Linked DNA regions of Homo sapiens: all the other regions are linked to region 2. The links are contacts of gene promoters, found by promoter capture Hi-C in blood cells and fetal thymus (Javierre and others, 2016). All regions are on one chromosome and are shown on one strand. The core of a region is centred on a gene start or on the middle of the fragment in contact, and the rest is flanking DNA. Distances in the headings are between cores, read along the strand shown.

Region 1 (4,341 bases), core at 1,086-3,585, 400 kb before region 2:
GAGACCAAGAACCCACCAATTCCAGACGCAGTTGCATTTTATAGAACAGAATGCTTTAAGAACGTGAACTCTAAAATCAGTATGCCGGGGCTGATGAGCTCAGCTCCCCTCATCCTAGCTCTGTGGTTTTGGGCAAACGATTTAACCTCTCTAATCTCAGTTTCCTAGTTGGTAAATGGGAATAATTATAGTACTCATGTAAAGGAATTTTTGTGAGGATTAAATCAGATAATCCATGTAAAGTACTTAGCATAGTGCCTGGGATGGTATATGAGTTTGATGGATGTTGATTTTTATGGTTCTAGATATTCTGTATTTTAACTGAACTTTCGATCCAAATGATGAGTATTATTATCCTAGTTTTTACAGATAATCAAATTAAGGAAGAGGAAGTAACTGGACCAAGTTGACACATCTTGTGTTTAATTGAACCAGGATTCAGTCTTTAGCTGTTTGATTCTAAAGTCTTAGAATTTTCAGTGTGCTTTACTGAAATCTACTCCTTGTAGAACAGCTTTCACTGACTTATTCCTTGGCATTTTGCCAACTACCCACAACAAAGGATATTTATGAGACAGACTCATTATGTCTGTGATTGTAGCTATTGAAGGGATCATGTTAAGAACATTGTCTACCACATCACACAGCAGTTTCAGCGTTCATGGGAGAAATTCCTTGGGAATCAGTTTTCACAAAAACTATGCTCCTTACTGAACAAGTCATTTGTGTTATTTTTCTTATGCAGAACTGTGACTAATCATGATCTTTCTTTCTTTGGGCTGTTAAGGAGCTTAGAATCAAATTTGTAGCCTTTTTCTGCTGCTTCCATGTACTAATGTTATTACAGATTTATGATATTCCTTTTCTATTTCCCCTTTATTATCATGGCCTTGATAATATATTTTATCCCAGTGAACAGTGTGTATTTTTAAAAGCTTCCACGGTGCCTTTGTGGAATAAAACAAAAATGAATGTACTTTAAAAAATTTAAAACTACCATTTAATACATGTTTATCTCTTTTCTTGGGTTTGCTCTTTGCTAGTCTTATTGGGTCAGATGCCATTATTTTCCCAGGGTTGGATAAGCCCTATTGGAACACATGAACACAATTACTCAGAGTTTTATGATTCTCTAGTATGTCAATAACAGGCAGAGGCCAGGCTGATTTAAACTACAGAAATTTATGAAAATAAAAAACTTCATAACTAAACATGCTAATTTCTTTTATACACAAATGTTTGGCTGGTAGCAGTAGGGAAAATAAGAGGGAGAGAATTAAGAGAGGAAGCAATTACATTTACTTATTTACAACATCCTCACAAGCCCTGTCTGTTCATTCAAGGCTGGTTCAGGTTCCCCTTCACTGTGCTCTCTGCTATCTTTGCATTTATTGCACTGTAATGTAAAAGGATTGTTTCTTATTCTTTATTATTTTCCTAATGTCAAGCATATTACCATAGTATGTAGAAGATTAGATAGATAGATAGATAATGCAGACTCAATATATGTTTCTTAAATGAATGAATCAAAGACATTCAACAGAGTGAGGCAGGTAAAAGACTTGGAAGATTTATGGGAGGGTAATATGTACATTATGTCTATTAAATAAAAATGTATAAGCCAGGCAAGGAGGAAGGGGAAGGAAATTTTAAGCAAAGGAAACTGTGTAAAGTCAAAGCTGTGAGAACACATGATGTGCTGGAGGAATTGCAAATATTTCAATTTGGCTTTAGTCTGGGTAAACGTGGAATAGAACAAGATGAACTTGGAATGTGAATTTATCTTGAGCACTGCAGAAAGTCATTGATGAATTCTAGGTAGGGGAAGGGGGGAGGTTATGAGATGATCACATATGTGTTTTAGAAATATTACTTTGATTCCAGTGAGAACTGTGGATTTATTGCAGACATTTAGGATGTTATCACATCAATCCAGGAGAGAAATTATGATGCTTTAAATTAATTAGGTAGTTGAGTTGTGATGAGAGGTTTTATGATGATAGAAATCATAGATGCAGTATTCAATTGACTGTGGAGGATGTGGGAGAGGAAGGAATCTATAATGCTCTCCATGTTTCTATGTTGATTAACAAGATGAATGTTGGTATCATTTTCCCAAACAAAAAAATAAAAGAAGAGAGTGGGAGGAGGGAGTCAATTTTGGACATGTTGAGCTTGAGATGCTAAATTAAAAAGACCTGTAGATACAAAAATGCAGAGCTCCAAAGATTGCTCTGGGTAGACAGTGCATAGTTTTGAGGAATTGGCATACAGTTAGCTGAAGGCAATGGGCAGGATGTGTTTTTAAGCAGATTGGGAGAGGGTAAAGGATAGAACACTATTGGACATTGCCCTCTGGGTAATGAGCAGACAAGAAGGATCCAATGAAGAAACTAGAAAAGATGGTCAGAGGGAGTATTAGAGAGATCTCAAGCCAAGAAAGAAAATTTCAGGACATCAGGAGAATCTTGTGTTTGCAGAAATTTGATAGAGCAGACATCCTAAATAATCCTTCTAAAAACAAATGATGTTTCTATACGCCAATTATTTTCAAGCTGAGAGCCAAATCAAGAACATAATCCCATTTATACTAGCCACAAAAAATTAAATACCTAGGAATACATCTAACCAGTCAGGCGAAAGATCTCTACAAGGAGAACTACAAAACACTGCTAAAAGAAATCACAGATAACAGATGAAGAAACATTCTATACTCATGGATTAGAAGACTCAATTTCATTAAGAAGGTCATATTGCCCAAAGCAATTTTCAGATTCAACCTGATTCCTATCAAACTATAATACCAATGTCATTTTTCACAGAATTAAAAAAAATACGCTAAAATTTATATGGAACCAAAAAGGAGCCCGAATAGCCAAAGCAAACCTAAGCAAAAAAACAACAACAACAACAAAAAAAAGCAAACCCATCACATTACCAGTCTTCAAACTATACTACAAGGCTACAGTAACCAAAATAGTATGGTATTGGTACAAAAAGAGACACATAGACCAATGGAACAGAATAGAGAACCCAGAAATAAAGCCACACACCTACAACCATGTGATCTTCAACGAAGTAGAGAAAAATAAGCAATGGGGAAAAGACTCCCTATTCAATAAATGGTGCTGATATAGCTAGTGAGCCACATGCAGAAGAATGAAACTGGATGCCTAACTTTCGCCATGTACAAAAATTAACTCAAGATGAATTAAAGATTTTAATGTAAGACCTCAAACTATAAGAATTCTAGACGAAAACTTAAAAAACACCATTCTGGACATGGGACTTACGAAAGAATTTATGACTAAGTTTTCAAAAGCAATTGCAACAAAACCCAAAATTGACAAAGAAGACCTAATTAAACTAAGGGCCTTCTGTACAGCAAAAGAAACTGTCAACAGAGTAAACAGACAACATACAGAATGAGAGAAAATATTTGCAAACTACGCATCCAACAAAGGTTTAATATCCATAATTTATAAATAACATAACAACAAGCAAAAAACAAATAATCCCATTAAAAATGGTCAAAAGACAAGAACAGACACTTCTCAAAAGAAGACATATAAGTGGCCAACAAACATATGAAAAAATGCTGCACATCACTAATCATTACAGAAATGCAAATCAAAACTACAATGAGATGCCATCTTATACCAATCAAAATGACTACTATTAAAAAGTCAGAAAACAAAAAAATGTTGGCAAAGCTACCCAAAAGGGAAAGCTTATACACTGTTGGTGGGAAAGTAAATTAGTTCAGCCACTGTGGAAAGCAGTTTGGAGATTTCTTAAAGAATTTAAAATGGAACCACCATTCAACATAGCCATCCCATTACTGGGTATATATCCAAAGGAAAACAATCTTTTCTACCAGAAAGACACACGCATTTGTATGTTCATTGCAGCACTATTCCCAATAGCAAAGACGTGGAATCAACCTAGATGCCCATCAGTGATGGACTTGATAAAGAAAATGTGTTACATACACCCCATGGAATACTATCTAGCCATAAAAAAAAATTTCATTTCCTTTGCAGGAATATGGATACAGCTGGAGGCCATTATCCTAAGCGAATGAACGCAGGAAGAGGAAATCAAATACTGTGTGTTCCCACTTATAGGTGGGAGCTAAACACTGGGTACTCATGGACATAAAGTTGGCAACAATAGACACTGGAGACTACTAGAGAAGGAAGGGAAGGAGGAAAGGATTGAAAAACAATTTATTTGGTACTATGCTTAGTACCTGGGTGATGGGATCATTCATAACCCAAGCCTCAGCATCACACAATACACTCAGGTAACAAACCTTTACATGTATCCCCTGAATCTAAA
Region 2 (3,747 bases), core at 439-2,938:
GTTCCTCCCCTTCCCCTTGCCCTGGATTCACTTTTATTGAGCGAAGTCAAGAGAGAACCCGTCTAGGCGCTGAAACCTCTCTCTCCCAACAGTTGCCAAGGAGCGACGCACGAAAAGTTCCTGTGTGTCCCTCACGTCCATATGCATGTATATAGTAAGTAAAGGCTTTACATAAATCGGCTTACGGCCTCACTTTCACGTGTCTTCCAAGAACGCCACAGACGCAAAACCTCCGCCCCAAGGTGGCCCCACTCTGCCCGCTCATCTAGGCGGTTTTGTTTATTATTTACATTTCCTGGGTGAAATTTTTACTAGAAATCAGATAAGTGCGAAAGTGTTTCCCAAAAATGCTTTAGCTGTCAGAAAATATAATTCTGTCTCTAGATACATTATTAAAGAGATCAAAGTCATGTTAGCAGATAATTACACCAACCACTTTTATAAATATTGATTCTAAGACGTGTTTTTAAAGAATCCCTGGAGTCATTTTTTGTTTGTTTTACATAGAACAGGTGAGTTTTAGACCTAATGTTTTGTAGTTTTCTTACAATTCGTTTTCTTCTCTCCCGTTTTACCGATTTGTCCTTAATTGTAAAAACACTCAAAGGCACCCCAAGCCAGCCCGGGGTCCGGGGAGTGGGTCAGTGGTCAGAGGCCTGCAGCCTCCCGCCCAAGACCTACCTCTCAGCGTGTTGCCTTCTTTGACTTTTGGGTCAAATTCTGCAGATAAAATGCGGTCAATTCCAAATTTGAGGTCTTTGCTGGAGGGGGCCGGGGCAGAGCCACTGTGGTGGGGGTTCGGAACCACTCGCGTCCCCGAGGCCGGGGGCTGCAGGGCGCCAGCCCGGGGCGGAGGCGGAGGCTGTTGCTGCTGCGGCTGTTGCTGCTGCTGTTGTTGTTGCGGGTGATGGTGGTGGTAGGCGGCTGAGAGCGGAGACAGCCGCTGCGGGAAGCCAGCCGGGACTTCGGAGGGCGCCACCACTGGGGTGGGTCGAAGCGGGGATCTGGCCGCCGCTTGGAAAGAGGCGTGCGGGTGAACCGAGCCCAAGTGCGCGGTGAGGGCGGCGGCCGAGGCCCCTGCCAGGCCCTCCGGGGCCGCCCCCAGATCCCCCACGCCGGCGTGCAGAATGTCTGCGATGCAGAAGGAGGGCTTTTTGACGGCGGCGGGGTCCAAGGGGAAGGAGCAGCCGCCTGGGCCGGCCGAGGAGCAGTAAGCGGCCGACCAGAGGCTGAAGTTGGAGGCGTAGAAGGGAGCCAGCCCGGCTGCGAACATCCTGCCGGGGTGAGCCGCGCGGCTGCCGCAGTCCAGCCGGACTGGGTGGGTGGGCGCGCGGGGAGGGGCGCGCGAGTCCCGGAGAAGGCGGCGGCAGCCGAGGACGATCCGCTTTCGCTTCTCCGCCCGCACTGAGGAAGAGAGGCCGGGAGCCCTAGCGCCACCGAGGGAGGAGGCGAGGGCCGGATCTCGGCCGGTCACCGCCTCGCTCCCTGGCCTCGCTTTAAAGGCGGCGCGGCGCCCGCACTCCTCGCGGGCTGGATGAGAGCGAGGGGCGCTGGGGCCGCAGGGCGGGCGGGGGAGCCAGGGAGACGGGAGCCGGACACCGCAAGAAAACCCAAATAGCTAAGCCCTAAGAGCTAAATTTAAAACAACAACAATAATAGTCCGTTAGTTAGGGGGGGGGAAAAGTAATAGAAAAAAAAAAAAACTCGTCTCTAAAAACTCCCAAAGTTTTGGCAGGAGCTTTCGAGTCAGGCCCGGGGTAGGACCTCGATCCGAGCGCTCATTGGTCATCCTCGTGACCAATGGGAGCGGGGAGTGGAGGGGAATTAGGAACAAGGGGGCCTGGCCGGACCCTAGCCACGCCCCGGCCACGCCAAAGTTTTTGCTGCGGCCGCGTGGGCTTAGTAGCGCACATCGCAGTGCTTCTTGCTACTCTGCGTAGGGGCCAGGCAGCCGCTCCGGAGGGCTCTGACTCTCTTCTAACTTCTGCAGCTCCGAACCGCCACGGGGCAAGGAGGGTTGATCACAGGAGCTTTCCTGAAGCGCTTGTCACCCGGGGCGAGTTGGGGGCGTGGGGAAGGGACGGTAATCTCACTCTTTAGGGCTCTGCAAAGCCCGCCTCCCGGTGGAGAGCGGAGCGCGCTTTGGCCCCTTTGCTTCCCTTCTCTTGACCTCATTCTGCTTTTATTCCAGGAGTCCGTGTCCTCGGCAAAGCCCCTCATCTTTCCTGGGCCCTTGCCCAAATGTTGCCGCCCTGAGTCCCGGCCCAACTCAGCACCGCGTCCGCCTCGTGCCTCCCAGGAGATCCTCCGGGAAGCGAGGAGGAGGGGCGGCCGCAAATTGGTTTTATTCTGAGCTGTCACACAGTGACAAATTGAACGAGTGACTTTTCAAACAAAATAAGACGGATGGCTCCAAACGTCTCTCTTAGACGCAGCCAAACCTTTCCCCGGAGCCTCAGAGGCTACAAAACAGGCTGCCTCCCGAAACCCGGGAGAGCGGCACGCGCTTCCATCCTTTGCAGGAGGTTGTAGGAAATGTTAGCCTCACCCCTCCACCACATCTCCGGATCACGTGGGGTTCGTTGTTTTGCAAGTGCCCACAAGAGCAGATTTCCGTGGGGTTCAATACTGCTTTCAATTCTGTGACAGCTTCCCCAGGAACCCCTTGGGCCTGGTTGCAGGAGGAGCTGCGTGGTGGTCAACGTCTTCCATTCGTGCCTTGGGTCTTTAGAACGCAGGGTAGTGGTGGTGGAGGTTTTGTGCAACATCGACATATCTATTTTAAGAATTTCTTCTCTTTAAATTATAGTCAGAATGAATTTCCCCACCCCTCTCCCAAACAAACCACAGGCCACCCAGATGAGCTGTTCTTGCACATTTTCAGGAAGAAAATAAAATAATACGAATAATGAAACCACGAAAACTTTTGTTTTCGATTGCCCTAATAAGCATCTCCTAACAGGGATTCTGTGACATTTTTATTTCCCTTCAGCACGAAGGCTCCTCACCAAATAAACCCAGAAAAGCAAGTGAACTTGCCATGCCTATCTCGAGTTCAGGGTTTGGGCTTATAAAATTAATTTCTGGTGTTTTCTCTAGCCCCTTGATGCAGATGCTATCCTTTTAAGCTTTTGACTTTCTCCTGGAAAATTATCAATCACTTCTGATCAGCCAGCACTAAGATCTCTCCCTCTCCCTCTCTCTCTCCCTCCTCCCGCCCTCCAGCTCTCCCGCTCTCGCTCTCCATCTCTCTTTTACTGAAAGGTTTTCTTCCCCTGCTCCACGCAACCAGGAGAGAGGTGCTATTTCCAGAGATAGATGGGTGTGTTTGGCTGAAGGTAGGGGTACCTGGGGCGAGAGACGTATTAAGACCAGTTTTTCTGTGTCAAGGTGAAGGCAAAGGAGCGACAAGTACAACATGGGCAATTGAGGCGCTGGCTGAGGGTTCTGGTGAGCCTTCGGTGGGAGTGTGCGTAGCGGAGGCCGTGAGCCCTCTGCTTTCTAGTGCCACTTCCAGTTTGATTGCGTTTCTAATTTGACTGCAAACATTTAGACCTCAGCCTAAGCCCAAACTCACGGTTGTGAAAGAGGTGCATTTACTCCTTACCCGAGGCAGCGCCGCGCGCCCTCACCCTCTCTCTTAAGAAATAAGACTCCCCTATCAGCTTTCACCCTTTCCAAGGTTTGCGACGCTCCGGGGTGGGCACGGGATACAGACCCGGGGGAATGCGAGTCCTCAGGGTTCCC
Region 3 (3,802 bases), core at 496-2,995, 260 kb before region 2:
TTTTAAATTCTTAGTCCACTTCTAATATTTCCGTTTCAGAGAATGCATGTACCCCTTAGATGTCTGGTCATTTTAGCCCAGAAGTCTTCCCGTGAGGATACCAGCTACCCTGCCCAGTTTAAGTGAGTTAATAAAGAGAGAATGAGCCTCCATGTGGAAATCCCAGACATCACCAAACCACTGTGAATTACCCTGATTTGTAGGAACCCATCATGTAACTCTATTGCTCAGGTCTTGACCTTAAACCTTAAGGAGAAGATGCATTATGAGAAGGTAGCCTCCCTAGATTTTAATCCACGAGCCCTGTGGGTCTGAAGGGTAGGGGTAAGGCAAATGGGTCCAGAAGCCCTTGTTTTCATTAACTCCTCCCTCAGCAATATTTATGCAGCCTCTCTGTGATCCTGGGTCACCTCTGCAGTGAAGAGGCGAGTGATGGCTGTCTTGAAGTAAAGCCAGAGAAGGACAAGAGCAGAATCCAGAAAGCTCCACTGCCACCTTGGGCCACCTTCTTCCCCTGGCTGAAACTGACACACGCAAGTGCAAATAGTCTTCTGTACCCTCAGGGTGTTCCCACAGTCTGTTGGTTGGTTTTATTCATTGTTAGAATTCATGTTTCACTTCTGTTAATTTTTTTTCTTTTCTCCAGGATTAATTTGAGAGAAGAGGGCATCATCCTTGTTGGAACCAGAAATCTTCCTACACAGGTTAGAGAGAGACTTCCCACAGTTTATAAACGCATGTGAAATTGTTTGTTCACCTGTAATAACATAGATAAATTATTAAGTTAAATGATGATTATATTCCAATCCCCCCACTCAAATTCCAAATGTCCTCATATTGTGTCTTCTCTTCTATTCAAAAATCAGTCGCTAAAAGTGTGTGCCCTTTAAGAGGCCTGCCCTGTCAGCCTGTGTCGTTCATTCACTGCCTCCCTGTCGGGAGCACCACTCGCCACATTCCTGACAGGATTTTGACAGGGTCTAGGATGTCAGACATGCTTATTAGCATTCACTTTTCTCATTAGACTGTTAAGGACTTGCTAATTAAAATGACTTCTTAAAATCTTCTAGTTATAATTAGTCACCAGCATAAAGTTGTCCACATTGTTTCTGCCATGGCAATAATTTTCCTCTCAGATCCATTTCAAACTGTCATTTCCTCAGTACTCAGCCTCAGGCATCCTCAGTATTGGCCATGCTCACTTAACACAACTTGGTTCCCTCAGTTCATACCCCATTAGCTGAATTCCTTCACAGGCACACTCCCTCTCAATTAGCTTTGGAATGTTGTATAGAGGAAACGGCATTACACCAAAGGGTCAAGTTCTAATCTGTGTTCTTACAGAAACTCGATGTATGACAATAGCAAAATCATTTCATCTTCCTCAGTTTTTTATAATCTACAAAATGGGGTTAAAGTTGGAAAAGATGGAAATAAATTATTGCAAATGTTCCAAACTCTAAACCTCTATGATTTAGTTTAAGGTTATCTATGCTCTACTTAAGATTAGGAAATATGCACATATTTCTAGAGACCTAGTTCAACTTACTAGAGAAAGCTTATATTACTCCATTCTCATGCTGCTAATAAAGACATATCAGAGACTGGGTAATGTATAAAGGAGAGAGGTTTAATTGACTCAAGAGTTCAGTATGTCTGGGATGGCCTCACAATCATGGCGGAAGGTGAAGAAAGAGCAAGTCATGTCTTACATGGCAATAGGCAGGAGAGCGTGTGTAAGGGGACTGCCCTTTATAAAACCATCAGATCTCATGAGACTTACTCACTATCATAAGAACACCATGGGGAAAAACCCATCCCCATGATTCAATTTCCTCCCACCAGCTCCCTCCCACAACACTTAGGGATTATGAGAGCTACAATTAAAGGTGAGATTTGGGTGGGGACACAGCCAAATCATATCAAAGCTTCAGTAGCTTTCTAAAGACTACTTCTAGCTGTCCTTTTTCCCTTCATACAATTCAGTTCATCTCACCTCTAGAAGAGTAATATAGATAGATATCCTACTCATAATTTATTTCCACCAGCCCAAATCATAAACTTACAAAATTTATCAAAGACTTACTCAGCCCTCAAATAAATAGTAAGTTCAATATTAGAGTTTTTATTATCATAACTTAGCAGTCCACTCGCTCTAACTAATGAGTAGAGCCCACCATTAACAACATTACTATGGCTGAGCTTCCAGCATCATCCAGACCACCATCTCTGATCAGTCTGAAATCTTACAAAATACCATTTATTAATGTCTTCATTTAACCTTGACCACTGAAACAGAAATCCACATGCACTAGAGGCCCAGTCCCCACCAGTGCATAGTATACCCATGTAACAAATATGCACATGTGCCTCCAAATCTGAAACAAATAAAATTTAAAAAATAAAAAAATTAAAAAGAAATCAGAATAAGACTATTCTGATGACTTTCTTGCTTGAAAATGTTCTTGGAAAAGCATTGAATTATTTTGAAACTTCTTAAAGAAGCTGAGCGCAACAAGCCTGTAGTCCCAGCTACTTGGGAGGCTGAGGCAAGAGGATCACTTGAGCCCTGGAGTTTGAGGCTCCAGTGAGCTATGATTGCACCACTGCACTCCAGCCTGGGAAACAGGGCAAGTGCTTGTCTCTAAGAAAATTTGGATCTAGTGTAAATGTGGGGCAAAGGAGGGCATTGGTTCCTATTTTAGTAAAGGCAATTGCCTGTTTCAAAAGTGGCTGAGCCAAACTACTACACAAAGTTCATTCTGCCAGGTTCTTAGCACAAAGCAACTACTACTGGAAATAATGCGTTTTTCAGCAGCATAATGCTTATAGCTTCTGGAAACTTCAGAGAGAATTTCCTCAGCTCTCAGGAATGATTGGATTCATGATAGCATTGGTCCAGTACATACATCAAAGTAAAACAGGGAAGTTCCAGCCAGGCAGTCCCAAAGCAACACTCAGCTTCTCTTTGGAGTCTTTATTCCCAAGAAGTTCTTCAGGCCAGCTCCTGGAATTCCAATACCAAAGACTTTTTAAAATTGTGCTCCAAAGCCCTATTCTTTGTGTTATACTCTCTATGAGCTTACAAAAATTAATAACTCCCTTGTGACTTTATTAGACAAAATGCACACAGTCTTTATAGTATTTGGACTTTCATTCTGATTACTGTAATTGGTAAACTCCAGAATTGCCTTATCTTTGCTAAACATATCCTCCCCACATATGATTAGGTATGGCTACACACTATAGACATTTTTGTGTAGGTCAAGATGTCAGCAAACTTTTCCTATAAAGCACCAGATCTTTTGCATGTTGTGGGTTATACGGTCTCTGTCACAACCACTTAACTCTGCCGTCATAGCTTGGAAGCAATTATAGACAATACATCAGTGAATGGACATGACTGTGCTCCAATAAAACTGCAAAGTAGATGGTGAACTAGGTTTAGCCCATCGTCCAAGTTTGCTGTGCCCTTGTCGAAGCAGCCTTAATAATCAGCTCAAATAATTTTGTACCTGCTCTAAAAATAAATGAGTTTTTAATTTAGCAAAGTATTGAACTTTCTCTAATGATGGAGACTATTTTGTACTTTTATTCTGACATAAATAGATAAGCAGAAACATAGTCCAGATTTAGACTTTCTCATAATTGGAAATTTAAACACAGTTTGGCTGAAATACAATAATAACTAGAATTTATCTAAGGCATAATAATTTATAAAGCTCTTTGACATACTTTATTTAATCTAGTCATCACAACACTATTAAATAAGTATTATTTTTTCTTTGCTTTTTGTAGTGTA
Region 4 (3,977 bases), core at 730-3,229, 290 kb before region 2:
AACCATTGGACTGCTCCTTCTCTGCAGGTCAAATGAAGAGCTCAGAAAGTCATAGTTATGCTGCACTGCAGTGCACGTTAATGTTCCTCCTAGTCACTAGCTCCCTGAGGGCGTCAGCAGAATCCACATGTTCTACCACCCCACCACCTACTGGAAACATAGAATCATACGCAAGATTTCCACTTTAGGTTAATGACTAGTCAAATTAAGAGATGCTGAGAAGAGCAAATGTCATTCCAAATTGAGTTAAAGCACACAGACATGCACATACACACACACACACACACACACACACACACACACACACTTCCAGCTGCTTCTTTTAATGTGACCCAGCACACATTGGAACACTGGGGCTCAGTCCCTGTAAGCAAGAACTTTCTTTCCACTCACATAAACCAGGCACATCCCACAATTTCAATGAACCAAACGCTTGGCCTTCAAAAGACGTGACTCTCCTACATTTTCATCACATTTTAGTTATTTTCCATATCGATAGTTGAAACTGTCCTACAACTTCAGGGCTATAGCTATTTTTTTCCACCTGTCTGCTAAAATGCTCTCAATTTTCCTCCCTAGCTCTTCTTTGCATTGAATTGCGTACCTTTATCGAATGCAAAAAAAAAAAGTAAAGTTTGAAGAGACCAGAGCATTTGGGGAAGTATGATTATTTGCTAAGCCTTACATTTTAAAGTGATTAGCCAAGGTTTGAGAAATTTCTCAGAGTGACTGTCATATGGAACCAAATAAAAAACCACAGAGATATTTGTAGTTTAAATGTTCTTTAAGTAACTGCATTATTACCACAGCACCTCCGAGGCTTCCCCTTTTTGCAGATTGCACATTGTCACCACTTCCTAAATAGCTGGCCTTATTAAAACACTACAGGCTTTGGTAAAAATATCTCTTGCTTTGGATAATTTAATAACTGTGGAGGGGGAAGATCTGGTTTTGTTTCTACAAAATCCTATCTTTGGGTTTACCACCCAAAAGAAAGAAATCAATTTAAAACATGTGTTTGGAGAGTGTACTATTTGCTTAATACCATGCTTGACAGAGAGGGAGATGGAGAAAAGCTTACAAATGAGATGGCAGAGATCAGCAGCACTCTCAAAATGATATAATGAGAGTTTCAGCAATGGGGTTACTCAAAGGGTCAGAAGAAGGAGAAACTCCTAGATGCTAGTCTCCTCACCAAGCCTTTGTTCACTGTTGTTGCTTTTAGTTATCGGCTGTACCCTCAACTGTTCTAATGAAACCAAGTCATCACAATCTATAGTGGGAAAATACTTTCCATCAGCTCAGTTGCATTCTTATCCTGTCATCTTGATATTTATTGGTTTCCCACCAAGAAATCAAAGGTGGTCAGAATGCCCAGTTACGTCCCTGCTGTATCTTGATTTAGCAGCAATGGCTGTTGAAGGCCGGAGACCCAATGATGTAGGAAGAAAGGCTGATCCTTTCCCTGCCAGCTCTGTGCCCAAGTTAATGATTCCATCATGTGGGTTTGTTTCCTGGGAGAAAATATTCCTTTTGGAAGGGGAGGGAGGATGAGTGCAGTCTGACTTCATGGCAGAGCATTTTGCAGTATGCTTTTTTTTCCCTTACTGCTAATTCCTGACCTCAGCAGATAAATAGAAATGAGACTCAGGCAAGTTAAAAATAATTTTAAGCTCTTCTCCCAGAGGCAAATGCTATATAACAGGAGACCCAAACAGAACACTTCGGCCCGAGTCCTAGCCATGATCTGGGTTCCACAATATGCTAGTTAAAATTCTTATCATCGCTTGATGACAATCAGTCCCTGGGAATTCTGGAATGGTTGCAAATCCGCCATTTCCTGCAATTCATCAAAACCTGGCCTCTAAATGGTTATGACTTTCTTCAGAAATATCATCATACATCACAGTCATGGGAGTCCCCTGTGTTCCTCTTCCCTACTATGACTGGGTCACCTTTCAGAATGCTTATTTTTACCAGAGGAAAATGTAGGATGGAGTGACCTCTGATGAGACGTGTCTAATCTAAGAAGGATGGTTGTTCATAATCTAAATTGCAGATAAATTAAATGAGCTTATCTCCCAGAAGGGCTAGAGCAAGATAAAACAAAACAAAACAACCCCCCTCCCCAAATGTAGTGTGTATTCAAACATTCTGTGGTTTAAGACAGCAAAAAACAAGAATGCCTAGATTGGATGAAAGCAGGAAAAAGATTAAGGTCAAGTAGAACATTCTCAGAGTGATGTGGAGAAAAGAACACTGGACTCAGAGGAAATCTGAATATCAGAGTTCTTGTTCCAAGTTGCTGAGTAACTTCTCTCTGGTCTGTTTCCTCAGCTCCATAGCATTCCAGTACTAACATTCTGTGCTTCGAATCAATCAATCACTGTAAAATCTGCCCAGAAGACTCCATCATCTCTTTCCTCCAAGGCAAGAGAAGGAAATAGGACAAAAGCAGATGCTACACTGAACAGATGACTTCTTCCCATCAGCACAGCCATTGCTCACACCCTGACTGCCATCCTGCCATCTTGTTCAGGGACCTACATGGGCTTCATTGAAAACTCAAAAACAATTCAAATTCTTATTTGTCCAAAAAAGCCCAGAGCCTTCTCCATCTAGTCCCAAGCTGAGAACAATCTACGGCCCTTTCATCCTTTTATCCTTTTATTTCACACTTCTTGGACACCTGCCATATTTCCTTCCTTCATTTTGGTATGAAGTCAGAGGTCAAATTCAAGACCTGTTAGAAAAGCATTCCAGATCTCACAAATGATGATCAGTGCATTTAGCCCACATCAGGGAATCCATCGCTTTTACTCCATTAATTCTCATTTCTGCCCACTGGGCACAGAACCTTACAGGAAGCACTAGAAGCTTGGATTGTGCCACAAGGACGTTACCATCTAGTTGGAGAGACCAAAGCACAGGAAATAAGGACCTCCTTACAAGTGAAACATGAATCCAAAATGCCAGCTGGGAAGAGCAAAAAGCAATTAGGAAGTAAGAGAATTGTAGTTCTGTTTGTTTCTACTCCCACAGCCATTTAAAGTCATTGGACTTATGGAATTGGAAGTGGCCTCAGAGACCATCTAGCTACCTCTTTTATTTTAAGTAAGAGTTCTTTAATAATTGGTTCTTATTTGTATGTTTTATGCAAATTTATAATGTTTTAAAATGATTCAAGTTTAGAATAAGACTTCTAATTAACACCTGGAAGTCAAGTTGAATGATTATTTAATACACTTAACCATAATGTAATTAACCATAAACATACAAATGAATGTTTAAGTTTCAGAATGGAAATACAACCAGAAACACAATAAATATATATGGAAACTATTGTTTTCTGCTAACTATAGAGAATATTAGGCTACAAAAAGAAATGATACTCCTTATGAAAATCAGCACAATATGAAAATTAGGTATCTTCAGCTGCTTCTCCTTTACATTCTAATTATGCCTTTTAAATTTGCCTTATTTCCCATTTCTTTAGTTATCCTTCATTTCTTACTTACACAAATGACACATCTTCTGATTAATCATTTTATAGCAGCATTCAAAATTCCAGTGTCATGGAGAGGAACTTTTAATTTTACTCTATTATTTATGGAATATAGCTTTTCCCTGCTTGACCTTTTTGTGTTCACAAGTAATGCTACCCAAACCATGAGTCACATATCAAATCCACTATGCCTGGCCCCTCAGGATCTCCTTCACTCTGAGTGGAAAATCCCTGGCCATACACAAGACTTTTGCTGTTGTAATTTACTGGCTGATAAATTAGAAAGGCAAAGCTCTGACTTGTTTAGTCCTGGGTTAGGGAAAGAGAAGTTGCGCTTGATTAAACAGATTGTTTAAAAAAAAAAAAAAAAGAAAGAAAGAAAGAAAAAGGAATGTTATCTAATCTATATTGCAGTGGGTCCTTAAACCCAGCTGAAGGATTCATCCACCACAAGGCATGTTTCGGGAAATCA
Region 5 (3,803 bases), core at 693-3,192, 300 kb before region 2:
TTTAGCAACAAAGAAAACTCAACTAGAGTTTTTTTTTTTTTTTTTTAATACAGGTATCCATGAGATTAAGGTGCTAAAAAAAGAAACCTGGCAGAAATGCAAGGTTGTTAAGGTTGTTTAATATTTGACCATTAATGAATATGATTCACCATTTCAATACCCTGAGAAAAATATGACTATAAACAGATGTAGATAAAGCATTTGACAAAATTCAGCATCCGTTCATGAAAATAACTTTCACATTAGGAATAGAAAGGCACTTCCTTGACTTGATAAATGGCATATACAAAACTCCAAATCTAAAATTATACTTAATGATGAAAGACTGAATGTTTTTGCCCTAAAATTGGGAATAAAACAAGGATATCTGCTTCTACCACTTCGATGAAATATTGTTTTGAAGGTGTTAACCAGGTTAATAAAGCTCAAAAATAACAAAAGGCATAAAGATTACAAAATAAGAAATACAATTGTCTCTATTCGCAAATGACACAATCATCTACATAGAAAAGAGTTTGAGAATGAAATCAATGTTATTTAATGCTTCCTCTTTTATCTATAATTATTTCATTTTAATCTAATCTTTCTTGGGGATTTTCCCTGCAATACTCCCAAATTAATAGTATTAAAAAGAAGTATCAAAATGAATCATAGATTTGGGTAGATAAAGGAAATGTAAGTTACCTAAATTAGAAATCTTTTAGATGGAAAATATTTATTACATCAAAATTAAGAATTTCTGTTTAACAAAAGACACTCTAGAGAAATTTCACAGAAAGTGACAATTAGGAAAAGATATTTTCAACACCTAAATCAATATATGATGAATACCTAGAATACAAAAAGACTTTCTGAAAATCAAAATGAAAAATATAAAAATCTCAGTAGAAAAATGGACAAAGAATATGAACAGGCTACTCAAAAAACATGACACTCTCACAGTTAACAAGTATATGCAGTGATGTTAAAATGTATGACAAATCAGACCAATTTGAATTTGAATTAAAATAAGATACTGCTTTACGTCTGTCAGATCTACAGAAGTAGGGAAGTGGTTTAATGCTAAAAGACAGGAACTCTTGTCCCTGCAGCTGGGAGTATTGCCTGGTATAGCCTTTATGATGAATGACGTGACACTGTGTTGTCAAACTGAGTGCACATACACTCTGTGACTAAGCAGTCCAGTTCTGAGAAGTCTGCTGCAAAAAGCTGCCCACATGGGTCCACAACACACAATAGTGTGCACAGTGGATTTGAACTGTGACAACTAAGATACAACTACTTTTCCTAGAATTCTCTTCTATAATTCTGAATTAATCTGGGCCTTGGGGACATTTCACATAAGATCTGGAAGACAGAAAGGAAGCAGCTAACATAACCTATTCCATTTGGAAATTCTGTGTAGGGCACCAGGCCTACAGGAGCTTATGCATATCGTCCCTGATGTGCTGGCTCACCTTGCTGGCCGCAGTTCCTGCAGTTCCTGCCAGATTTTCTCCTTCACCTTCTCCATCCTAGGCCAGCAATGAGCACCTCCACCTCCTGGGAAACAGCTGAGCTTACACCCCTCCAACTTTTTTTCTCCTCCTCCTCCTCCTCCTCCTCCTCCTTCTCCTCCTCCTCCTCCTTCTTCTCTTTGTTCTCCTCCTCCTCCTCCTCATTCCCCTCCTCCTCCTCCTCCTCCTCCTCCTCCAAATCCTGGGCCAGATAGGTGTTTAGTTCCACCACAATGGGCTCCAGCTTCTCCTGCAGTCACCACACCATCAAGAAGCTTGGAGGCAGCAAGAGAGGTTCAGGTCATCCTTGCAGTTTCCAGTGAGTCTTTGCTTTCCCTTACTTTCTGTCTGTCTTTCCTTCCCAGCTCCCTGCCCTGCTGACTTCAGCCCCAGTACCACCTACAGAAACAACAACTGTATATAAGCCATTTAACCAGCTATAAAAATGGCATAAGTTCAAGACCTGATAATAAACTCCTTATTTTATATCCTTCCTAGTGCATCTGCTTCTCTAACTGAATGCTGGCTGATCCAGAGGAGGAGGTTCACCCCAGGATTTTGTGGTATCAGGAAAAGGTACCTCAAGGAATGGGTAAGCAGAATGTGATGGAAGCTTACCCAGAAATACTACACAGAAGTTAGACATGGCACGTGGAATACATGGCACCATGAATAGATTTAAAAGCAATGCTTTCTTTAAAGCAAAATTAAGAAACTACGAAATTTATAGTGCAATAATTTTTATGAAAATTTAAAAATTCATCCATACATACAGAAAACAACACTATTTCAGGATACATACAATTTGAAGGACACATAACAAATCCTGAAGAGAGCCAGTGGGCAATGGAGAATAAATACATGCAAAAAGTAACTGAATACATATAGACACACCTATAAAGTTCAAAGCAAGAGAACCCTTGCTGAGGGCAATGACGAAAATGTGCCAGGAACCAAGGATTATCTTTCCTGCTACTAAAAGCCCTAGATGGCTGGACTGTGGGAGACAAAAGAGGGAGCCATGAGTTGGACCTGGAGGTGGGGTGCATGCAGTGAATTCAGCCCCAGGGGCCTGCCTTGGACTGCCTATGGCAGTTTTTGACTCCATAGGTCTTGGTACATGCTACTCTTCTGTCTAGAACACTCTTTCCTCCCCTCTTTACCTAGTTATCTCCTACTCAGCCTATTTCTGAGGCCAGTTGTCGCTTTGTAGTGAGAGAAAGAGATCTTTCCTTCATTTCTTGACTATGCTTAATATCTTTATTATGTTTTTCATAAACATATATAAACCGTCTTCAGGGAACTCATTCAGCTTCAACATTACAATCTCTTTCTGTATTTGTTTGAAACTTACCCTACTAGATGATAATCTTCATGTGTGTACGAGTGTTTCTCTCCATGGCAGTGCAAGCCTAACCAAGTGTGCTGTGCATAGTCAGTGCTCAATTAAAATACATTGATGAATGAGTGAATCTATTTGTTGTTGGTCAGTTGATTGCTTGATTAGTTTAAGTTTGTGTCATGGCAGAGGATTAGAAAACTGGATTCAGTGAAAGCCATCACTGGGCATTCCCAAGCCTAGTTGAAGGGCCACGTATATTCATGCATATTCATGAATTAAATCCATATCTATATATTCTAGTTTGGGACTTCATGAAATTGCTAACAATTGTGAAAGCTGCTATCTGTCTGTCTTTGTGCTTTCTATTCTCTTCCTCCACTCTCCTCCCTTTGCTCCTTCTACACAAGACCATGAAGACATGCCATTAGTTTTGTGAATCACCATTCAGGCTAAAGAGACTAAATTATAATCAACTGAATAATTCTCTATCTAGGAGATGGTTCACATTTTGTTAATAATTCTTTCTGGACACATAATTTGATGATTGCATATCATTTCTTTAATGCTCCTGCTAAGAAAATTATAAATTAAGTCCCTCTTTATAAAAAAAAAGATTGCTGTTTCACTAAGCCTGCTGTTAAACTGAGATTAATGTTCCATATCTGAAGTATAAATTACCTAATAGTTCCTCCCACCACACAGCTCAGGAATTTAGAAACCCTGTATCAGGATTTCCTCCATAAATGTGTGCCATGAATCTCTCCCTCCTTAAGGCACATACCAAAATGGCATGTTAGAGTAGTCTAGTACAACAAATTCCATCCCAAATATCTCCATTTTGATAAAACTCAAAGGTATCACACACCAGCACCTTTTCCTCCCCACTTTTCTTTTATTCTCTCTCCCTCCTTGTTTAATTATTGAGCACATGCAGAAAACTTATATACTTTTAATTCACCTATCTT
Region 6 (4,107 bases), core at 167-2,666, 370 kb before region 2:
GTGTAGGACAAGTCTCCTATATGTTTGATAAACTTTTGTCTGGTTGTTCTATTGATTTTTAAAAGCATAGTATTGAAATCTTCAATTGTTATTGTAAAATTATCATTTTCCCTTTCAATTCTGGCTGGTTTTGCTTTCTTTATTTTGAAATTCTGTTGTTAGGTGTATATATTTATAATTGTTATATTTTCCTGATGTATTGACACTTCTAGCATTATAAAATGACCTTCTGTGTCTCCAGTGATATATCTTATGTTAAATTCAATTTTGTCTGATGTTAGTATGACCACTGCAGCTCTTTTTTATGCCTGGTATATCGTTTTCCATCCTTTGCTTCTAACCTATTTTTGTCTTTGAATCTAAAGTGTATTCCTTATAGTTAAAATACAGTTGGATGTTGCTTTTCGATCCATTCTGACAGTCATTGCCTTTTGATCAAGGTGTTTAGGCTTTTCACATTAATAAAATTATTGATATAGTTGGATTTATATTTGCCACTCTGCTTTTTGTTTTCTATATGTCTCCTATATTTTTAGCCCTCTGTTGCTTTTAATTACTTTGGTGTTAAAAAATGTACCATTTTAATTCCTCTTTTGATTTTTTTTTGTTATAATTGTATTAGTGGCCGATCTGATCTGAGGATTAACATATACATAATAATTTATAACACAAACTTCATAAATTAATACTAACTTAATTCTGGTAAAATATAGAAAATTTAATAAAGCTTCTCTCCTTCTCTCTTTGTACTTTAATTGCCATATATATTACATCTGAATATGTTCTAAACCTAACCCTGCAGTGCTATACTTATTGCCTTCTATCACCATGATAGTTCCTTTAGGCTAGTAGAGATGTAGGCCCTCCCACTGCCTATATTGTCACTTTTGCCATGCTTGGTGTAGGCATTGCTCACCATTCCACATCAAGTGATACCCCTTCAGCTGTGGCAGTGAAGCTGCACATTTTCCTGGCCCACCTGGCCCTTCCAGACCCTCCTTGCAGACTGAGCTGGAGGGTGGGTGGGGTGGAATGGAGCAGGTCCACGCAAGAACATCACTGGCTCCCATTGTTCTTACTTAAACTTCTTATTTGAAGGTTTTTAAGCATGAAGGATTCTCTGATTCTTTTATGCTTTTGTTTGAGTCCTAGAAACAGATTTTTAATCCATTTTATCTAGGTGTGTAGTTAATTTGGGAAGAGAGTTTGCTGACCTCCTCACTCAGCCATGTATGTAAATTTTAACCCCAAGTAAGCTTTAAGTTCTAGGAGACAGCTACCATATTTTCTACTGCTTTTGCACTCATTCAATGAGGTGAATTGCTTTCCCTATCACATAATGTCCTGAAATTGAAAGGATTTATTACAGTACTTCAGTAACATTGGAGACCATATTGCTTGGAGACATAGCGGAATCCCAAAATGAGCATTGTCAGCATTTCCATATTTGAAAAGAAAGAAATGTCTGACATACTTCACTGACCAAGGTAGTGCAAGGTCCAAATAAGAAAAGGCACGGTTACTAGTGTCCCAGAATTTGCCTCCTCCAAACACAGAAAGAAGGAAAATAAGCTTAAATCCCTACAAAATGGAATTTGGTTAGTTTTATGAGAACCTCCACAAGGCAGAGAACATAGGAATATTTTTCTAACGCCTGTTGAAGAAAATTTATCTAAGGCAACATTTAAGAAATAGGACTATAATTATTTTTCTGTCATGCTTTCTATTGAGACATTTCTGAGGCTTGGGAATGGGCTAGAGGGCCTTTCAAAAGTCCCTTCTAAGAATCTTCAAATCTTGATTTATGAATCCCCCTACCACATCTATATCCATTGAGATATTTTCTAAGTTAAAGCACAGAAGATTTATCAGTCTTCAACATACAAGAACCTCACACATTTATCTCTCAAGTGTCATGATGGTGGACTTTCACAAGGCCTAAAAGCTTTCCACAGACTTTGAATTGTGCTTTTATTTTTATACCTTTCCTATATTGAAAAACAAATAATAGAAAGAAAAAGCTAACTCTGTAAGGGAGGGAATACAGCTGATACCCAGTTTGGGCCACCTAGAATGCATCAGAATTAATGATAACTTGGTCTGACAGCATCCTTACCACAAGAGATGAAGTCACCCTAGGAAGTGTTGTAGGGGAAAATAAAATCAACAGAGTGAAAAAGAAAAAAAAAACTATAAAGTCTGAAATATATGTTGTCCAAGTATTTTCCCTCCATTAATTTTGGAAGCCCTTGAGTGTTTTCAGGGAAATTTAATCTGCATGTTTCTGAACCATTTACACTTAACTCACCACAATGTTGCTCTGTAACAGTCATTTGTTGTCCAAGAAACGCTCTGAACCTTGTTCATAAAGATTTTTATTAAAGCAATTGTTTTCTTTTCCCTTAAAATGAAATTATGCTTTTCTGAATTGAAGGGAACATTGAAATGAACCCTAAACTCAAAACTTGTGTGGCACAAATAATAGATCCACTTTTGATCAAAGTGTGTCACCATTCAGATTTCCAACCCAAGGTACTTTGGTTTTGGCAGCATCACAATTAAAGGTTCAGTTGAAAAGACACAGGTTTATTACTCCTTGGATAGCTAAAGTGAGCCCTCTCAGGCCTCTTTTAAAAGCAAGACTTTTAATGAACTTGGCCTGTCTAATAATCAGCTCTGCTTTAGACCCAACTGGAATGAAGCTCTGAACCAGAGTGTGAGAAGTGAGACAATGGAAGTAGCAGAGATGATTCATGATGTTAAGGACTTTATAGTCCAAGGGACTAAACAATAAAATGAAGGCAAACATTGCTCCTACCTCATAGGATTGCAGTAGAGATTAAATGAGATTATCGTATAAGGTGTTTAGCATTTCCAAGAACATAGTAAGACCTCAATATATTTTAACTCCAATAATAATTTATCTTTACAAGTGTTTGTATTGACAATCAGACTCTAAACCAGGCACCTCTAGACAATACACTTAAATAAGACCACTCGACAAGAATGCTCACTCATGCATTTACTCATTCGCCAGCTCCAAAAACCCTTGTGAGAATGAATGACTCCTAGTTCAAAAAGTATTTTTGTACTGAATTTCATGTCATGATTGAAAGCCTAGCTAGAATACTACCATGAGAAAAGCCATTATTGCATTATAAGAATCCGAATGAGTCTGGCTCATGAATCAGCTGATTTAATGTGTACTATATATCAAAAGATTTTGTGAATTTGTTTTGTGTCGTTTAATCTTTAATACCAATGAAGAGTATTTGAAGAGCCCTTTGTTAAATCAGCTACAGAACTTTAATGTATTTTACTCTTATTATATTTGTGATGGTTAGTTTTATGTATCAATTTGGCTAGAGAATAGCTTAGAGTTACCTAATCAAATGCTAATGTAGGTGCTGCCATGAAAGTATTTTGTAGATAGAACAGCTACAATTATAGGTTGGTGCGAAAGTAATTGCGGTTTTTGCCATTGAAAGTCATGGCAGATAACCTAATAATAGTTAACTTTAAGTGAAGACTACCTTCAATAATGTGAGTGGACCTCATCCAATCAGTTTAGAGTCTTAAGAACAATTACTGAGGTTTCTTAGAGAAAAATATATTCTGCCTCAAGACTCCAACAATTCCTGTCCCTGTGTCCAGCCCTCAGACGTGCCAGCTCCCACAATCTGATACAATATCTATTGATCTTTTAAAATGCTAACATTTTTAAAAATCAGAGTAAAGGCACGATCTGGAAAGTAATAAGCTGTTTTGTCTAGTAATTTCTGTAGTAACCTAAATTGTTTCACTTGCCCTCTGGAGGAAGTAGCATTGTCTTTGCTGCCTGCCTATCACCCTTGTGACTTAAGGGTGTACAGGTTTGCCTACCTTACTTGTTGCACAGTGTTACCAGGTAGAGCATGATACATCACTTATTCAACCAATGAACGTTTATTGAAGGTCTACTCTGTACCATGTACTCATCTATACACTGTGGGTTATGGTGGGGGAAGGCAAGGAGGAGGTGGGACAATGAGTCAACAAATAACTAAATAAAATATATATAAAATGATGGTAAGTCCTTTGGTGAGAAACAAATTAGGAGAAAAGATA
Region 7 (3,855 bases), core at 363-2,862, 350 kb before region 2:
AAGAAGGTTTTTAATTTTTTTTTTTAATTTTTAAATATGTGAGTGAGTGAGAGTAAAGTACTGAGGCTGATTCCACAAACCATGCAAAAAAAATTGTCTTTAGTATTTGCCAATGGCCATTCCTTAAATGATAGACTAACAAATCACTGAATCATGCCCTTTTGCTGTGATAAGGAGATATAGAGATGAAAATTATCTTTTCAGTTTTTCATTTAAAAAATAATCCCTACATTTATCCAGGAGGTTGATTTGTTTTGAAAGAACACCATAAAATTTAGATGTAGAAATTAAGATTACTCATCTTTCTGGTGAACTGAAGACACTAAAACAAGTCCTGTATACTTAGGTAGGACCATATACATCAATTGATAAACAAATAAAATAAATATTTTAAACTCCATATTGCCTTCACAGAACCTAGGCCTGTAACGTATTCACTAAGCAAACTACTGTTTAATTATTGCCTTACTCTGCATACCTTACTCTGCATATGCCAAAAATAGGCTGCATGTTTTAGGCTGTGTGGCAAGTAGAATGACCAATGTTTCTATTTCCCAGGGCTGTGGCAACAGCCCAGTATTTAGATAGCTGCTTCCTTGCCAACAGAACACAAGAGAGCATAAATTTACTACCAAACATAGATGCCAGGGAAACAAGGAAACCCTGAGGTCAATGCCCTAGCCCATGTAGGAAATTTTATTCTTTGGGTGAGTATAAAGAGTTCAGCAAAAAAGGTCAGAGAGGAGTAAGGAGGTATGCCAATTTCAGTAGCTTGTTTAACTACTTTGGGATTCCATTAGCCTACCTATTAAGATAACTTAGTAAAGCTTATTCATCTCAACTTTATTTCCAAGGACAAAAGGCATGACATTTTGAGTCAAGCAAGGCTGGACTGAGTTTTGTAACAACTTACTATTTGAGCGAACCTAGGCAAATCTCCAATATTGGTTTCTCCATCATAAAATAAGACTACTAAAAATACCAATTTCAGAGGATTGTTACTGTAGGATTTGCAAGATAATAATGTAAAACAACACAGTGTCTGACATTAGTATGCACTCAAATGTGAGCTATAACTTTTGTAGCAACAACTGTTTGAATACTTACTATGAGCAAAACTTTGTGCTAGAAAACTCTGATAGACATAAGGATAAATTAGACATATTTCCTCCCTGCCAGGAGCTTAGATTCTAACAGATGAGATAAGAGGAAGTTATAAACTCCAAGACAGCAAAGACTTTATGTTTCTCATTCACCTTTCTATATCTAGCACTGACAACAGTTTCTGGTATATAGTTGGTATACAACAAATTTTATATATATATAACTTTCTACTAGGTAAAAGTAGTAGATTATATATTATACTTATTTATATATAGTATATACTATAAAAAGTAGTAGATTACAGGTGGCTAGATCAATTTTTATATATAAATCTATCTATAATCTACTACTTTTACCTAGTAGAAAGTGCTAAAGTGAATAGGAGAAATAAAGAGAAAATATAGGTATATAAGTAAGAATCAGGACTGTGTAAGAATTTATCCATAGTTTCTCATCTGTAAAAGGATGGTAATTACACTTGCCCTGCTTCCCTCATACAGGTTATTGCAGAGTTCAAATTAAGAGTATGCTTACCTGGAGGCCAGGCGTGGTGGCTCATGCCTGTAATCCCAGCACTACGGGAGGCCGAGGCGGGCGGATCACAAGGTCAGGATATCGAGACCATCCTGGCTAACACGGTGAAACCCCGCCTCTACTAAAAAATACAAAAAATTAGCCGGGCGTGGTGGCGGGCGCCTGTAGTCCCAGCTACTCTGGAGGCTGAGGCAGGAGAATGGCGTCAACCCGGGAGGCGGAGCTTGCAGGGAGCCGAGATTGCGCCCCTGCACTCCAGCCTGGTCGACAGAGCGAGACTCTGCCTCAAAAAAAAAAGAAAAAAAAGAAGAAGAGTATGCTTACCTGAAGTCAGTAGATGGATGAGGCAGGTAGAAAAAGGACAATGAATTAATCCATATAAAATTAATGACGTTTGCCAAGAGTCGTGTAGTGCTTACTATGTGCTAGAGACAGTTCTAAACATTTCACGTGTTAGCTAATTTAATCCTTGCAACAACTCTGTGAGATAGGCCTTATTATCCTCATATTGCAGAAAGGGAAACTGAGGCACGGATAGGTTAAATAACATGCCCAAGGTCATGTAGGTAGTAAGCCACATAAGTCGGATTAAGCAAAGGGATTCTTGTCTCCCAACCAGTGCAGCCAGGAGCTCAGACTTTGCTGTTATTTTGACTTATTGGAAAATGCTGGTCCTTTCCAATCAAGAGCCTCTGAATCCTCCGTCTCTGTCCCTCTCTTTCTAGCAACCCTCTCCAACGCTTTCTACCACAAGCTTAATTTTATTATTTTGACTGCTTGCTAGGAGGAGGAGGAAGAGGAAGAGTGAGCTATAAATATCCCTTCCTAAGTGCCCCCCAAAGTGAAACCACCTGCGCCTGTGTGAGGTAGCAGGAGAAGCAGAGAGCCTCAACTGTGGAGAGAGGTTTGCATCCCATCATTCAACGGAGTGTTTTAGAGACCTCCTGCCGGGCTGACTGCTGCGAAGGGGAGTAAAGTAAACAAGCCACAATGAATGGTGTCACTACAGGGTTTTATCATCTACCTGCTTGATTATGTCAGTAAGAACTCAAAAGCAAGTTCTGGGCAGATAAAGCATCCTGAGAAAGCTGAGCTTTGGGTTTACTGAGCCCCCAGCTATCGAGCACCTTTTGGGGTTATGGGGCACTCAGGCACTTATTAGGGATAGCCTGTTTGCTCTCACTATATCCTTGGGTATGGAAACATTCTGCAAACTGGAAATAGAACAAATATTCCTGCGACCAACTAATAATAGAGGAAAGGCATCAGTGGGGTCAGGCTGTCTTTTCAACTGGAAGAGCAAGTACATTTCCATTCTGCAGGTGTCTGGGTGCAGCCCTTTTATACATCCTAAAAGAAAACTTGCCAAGATTACAGAGTAAATCAGTGATTAACCTCCGTCCACAGCGTTGTTTAATCCGCAGTTTTATAAGGCCAGCACAGTGATGAACCAGCCAACTCTTCTGAGGATTCACTCACTCTGGACAGACCATTCTGGAGGTCAGCTCTAGGGCAGAACTGAGTTAGCAAAAGTTAGCTGTGCTTGCTTTTGCCAAAGAGCAAGGTTTCTCTTGAAACACCCACACATGGTTTCAGGTGCGCCACACACACACGCACAGACAACCACAAGGAATTTTTATTTTCTTCAATCCCAATCCAGAGTCAGAAACAGCTGCCAAATAAGTCCCTCTGACAGCACCTCCTACACGACGAGACGCCAGAGCTGCAAAGTGTACTCGGTAGGCGTTTTAATTGTGAATCCAGATGCTCTACCCTTTCAGTCCTGGGCTCTGACCTTTCACTTGAAAGTCAATTTGTCAGTCTGCTCCGTGTGTCTGAAGAAATCATCAAAGCCTCCCTGCCGAGGGGCTCCCCATGGGCTTCGCGTATGTGGCTGCAACAATGCTACAGTACACTAGCGGAAGAATATAGGGGCACATGGAGACCCCGCAGCTCCCCTGCCCTCATCGCTGCTTGGGTGCATTCTCTCAGCGGAGATTGCTTCACACAGGGATGGACACTGAGTATCTTTGAGGAGGGAAAGAGGAAGTAGAGGCAAAAAGCCATCCTGAACCATTGCTTCCAGCCCCTTCCGCCACCAACCTGCCCAGCGAAAGCCCCGTGGACAGGTAGGAGAGAGAGGCTGCCCAGAGGCCCCATAAGCCCACTCAAGCCTCATCTGGGGAGTTTCCGTTACTGCCAGCACAAAGTTCAAGT

The links. The method cuts DNA at HindIII sites, captures the fragments that hold promoters and counts their contacts. A CHiCAGO score of 5 or more calls a contact.
Region 1: a fragment that was not itself captured here is called in contact with the fragment with the promoter of HLX in region 2 in 1 of 17 cell types (neutrophils); the score reaches 6.7 in neutrophils.
Region 3: a fragment that was not itself captured here is called in contact with the fragment with the promoter of HLX in region 2 in 2 of 17 cell types (neutrophils and monocytes); the score reaches 9.5 in neutrophils.
Region 4: a contact is called between a fragment that was not itself captured here and the fragment with the promoter of HLX in region 2, in 10 of 17 cell types (neutrophils, monocytes, M0 macrophages and 7 more). The highest score is 26.8, in neutrophils.
Region 5: a contact is called between a fragment that was not itself captured here and the fragment with the promoter of HLX in region 2, in 9 of 17 cell types (neutrophils, monocytes, total B cells and 6 more). The highest score is 18.0, in neutrophils.
Region 6: a fragment that was not itself captured here is called in contact with the fragment with the promoter of HLX in region 2 in 1 of 17 cell types (neutrophils); the score reaches 5.5 in neutrophils.
Region 7: a fragment that was not itself captured here is called in contact with the fragment with the promoter of HLX in region 2 in 3 of 17 cell types (neutrophils, monocytes and M2 macrophages); the score reaches 8.4 in neutrophils.

Annotation. Positions count from the first base shown.
Region 1 is chr1:221,280,485-221,284,825 of GRCh38, reverse strand. No RefSeq gene overlaps it. Among named protein-coding and RNA genes, the nearest start is that of LINC02817, 54 kb to the left of the region's middle. The HindIII fragment of the contact is 2,795 bases long and covers 938-3,732 here.
Region 2 is chr1:220,877,384-220,881,130 of GRCh38, reverse strand. HLX (H2.0 like homeobox) reads right to left here and starts at 1,688. Exons shown (of 4, transcript NM_021958.4): 1 at 682-1,688. The coding sequence starts at 1,273. HLX-AS1 (HLX antisense RNA 1) reads left to right here and starts at 991. Exons shown (of 3, transcript NR_046901.1): 1 at 991-1,282. RefSeq lists an enhancer at 355-963 and a silencer at 2,082-2,131. The HindIII fragment of the contact is 7,579 bases long and covers 1-3,130 here.
Region 3 is chr1:221,139,228-221,143,029 of GRCh38, reverse strand. No RefSeq gene overlaps it. Among named protein-coding and RNA genes, the nearest start is that of LINC02817, 200 kb to the left of the region's middle. The HindIII fragment of the contact is 370 bases long and covers 1,561-1,930 here.
Region 4 is chr1:221,163,894-221,167,870 of GRCh38, reverse strand. No RefSeq gene overlaps it. Among named protein-coding and RNA genes, the nearest start is that of LINC02817, 170 kb to the left of the region's middle. RefSeq lists a silencer at 686-805. The HindIII fragment of the contact is 1,801 bases long and covers 1,079-2,879 here.
Region 5 is chr1:221,180,650-221,184,452 of GRCh38, reverse strand. No RefSeq gene overlaps it. Among named protein-coding and RNA genes, the nearest start is that of LINC02817, 150 kb to the left of the region's middle. The HindIII fragment of the contact is 338 bases long and covers 1,774-2,111 here.
Region 6 is chr1:221,249,096-221,253,202 of GRCh38, reverse strand. No RefSeq gene overlaps it. Among named protein-coding and RNA genes, the nearest start is that of LINC02817, 85 kb to the left of the region's middle. The HindIII fragment of the contact is 316 bases long and covers 1,259-1,574 here.
Region 7 is chr1:221,227,544-221,231,398 of GRCh38, reverse strand. No RefSeq gene overlaps it. Among named protein-coding and RNA genes, the nearest start is that of LINC02817, 110 kb to the left of the region's middle. The HindIII fragment of the contact is 1,565 bases long and covers 830-2,394 here.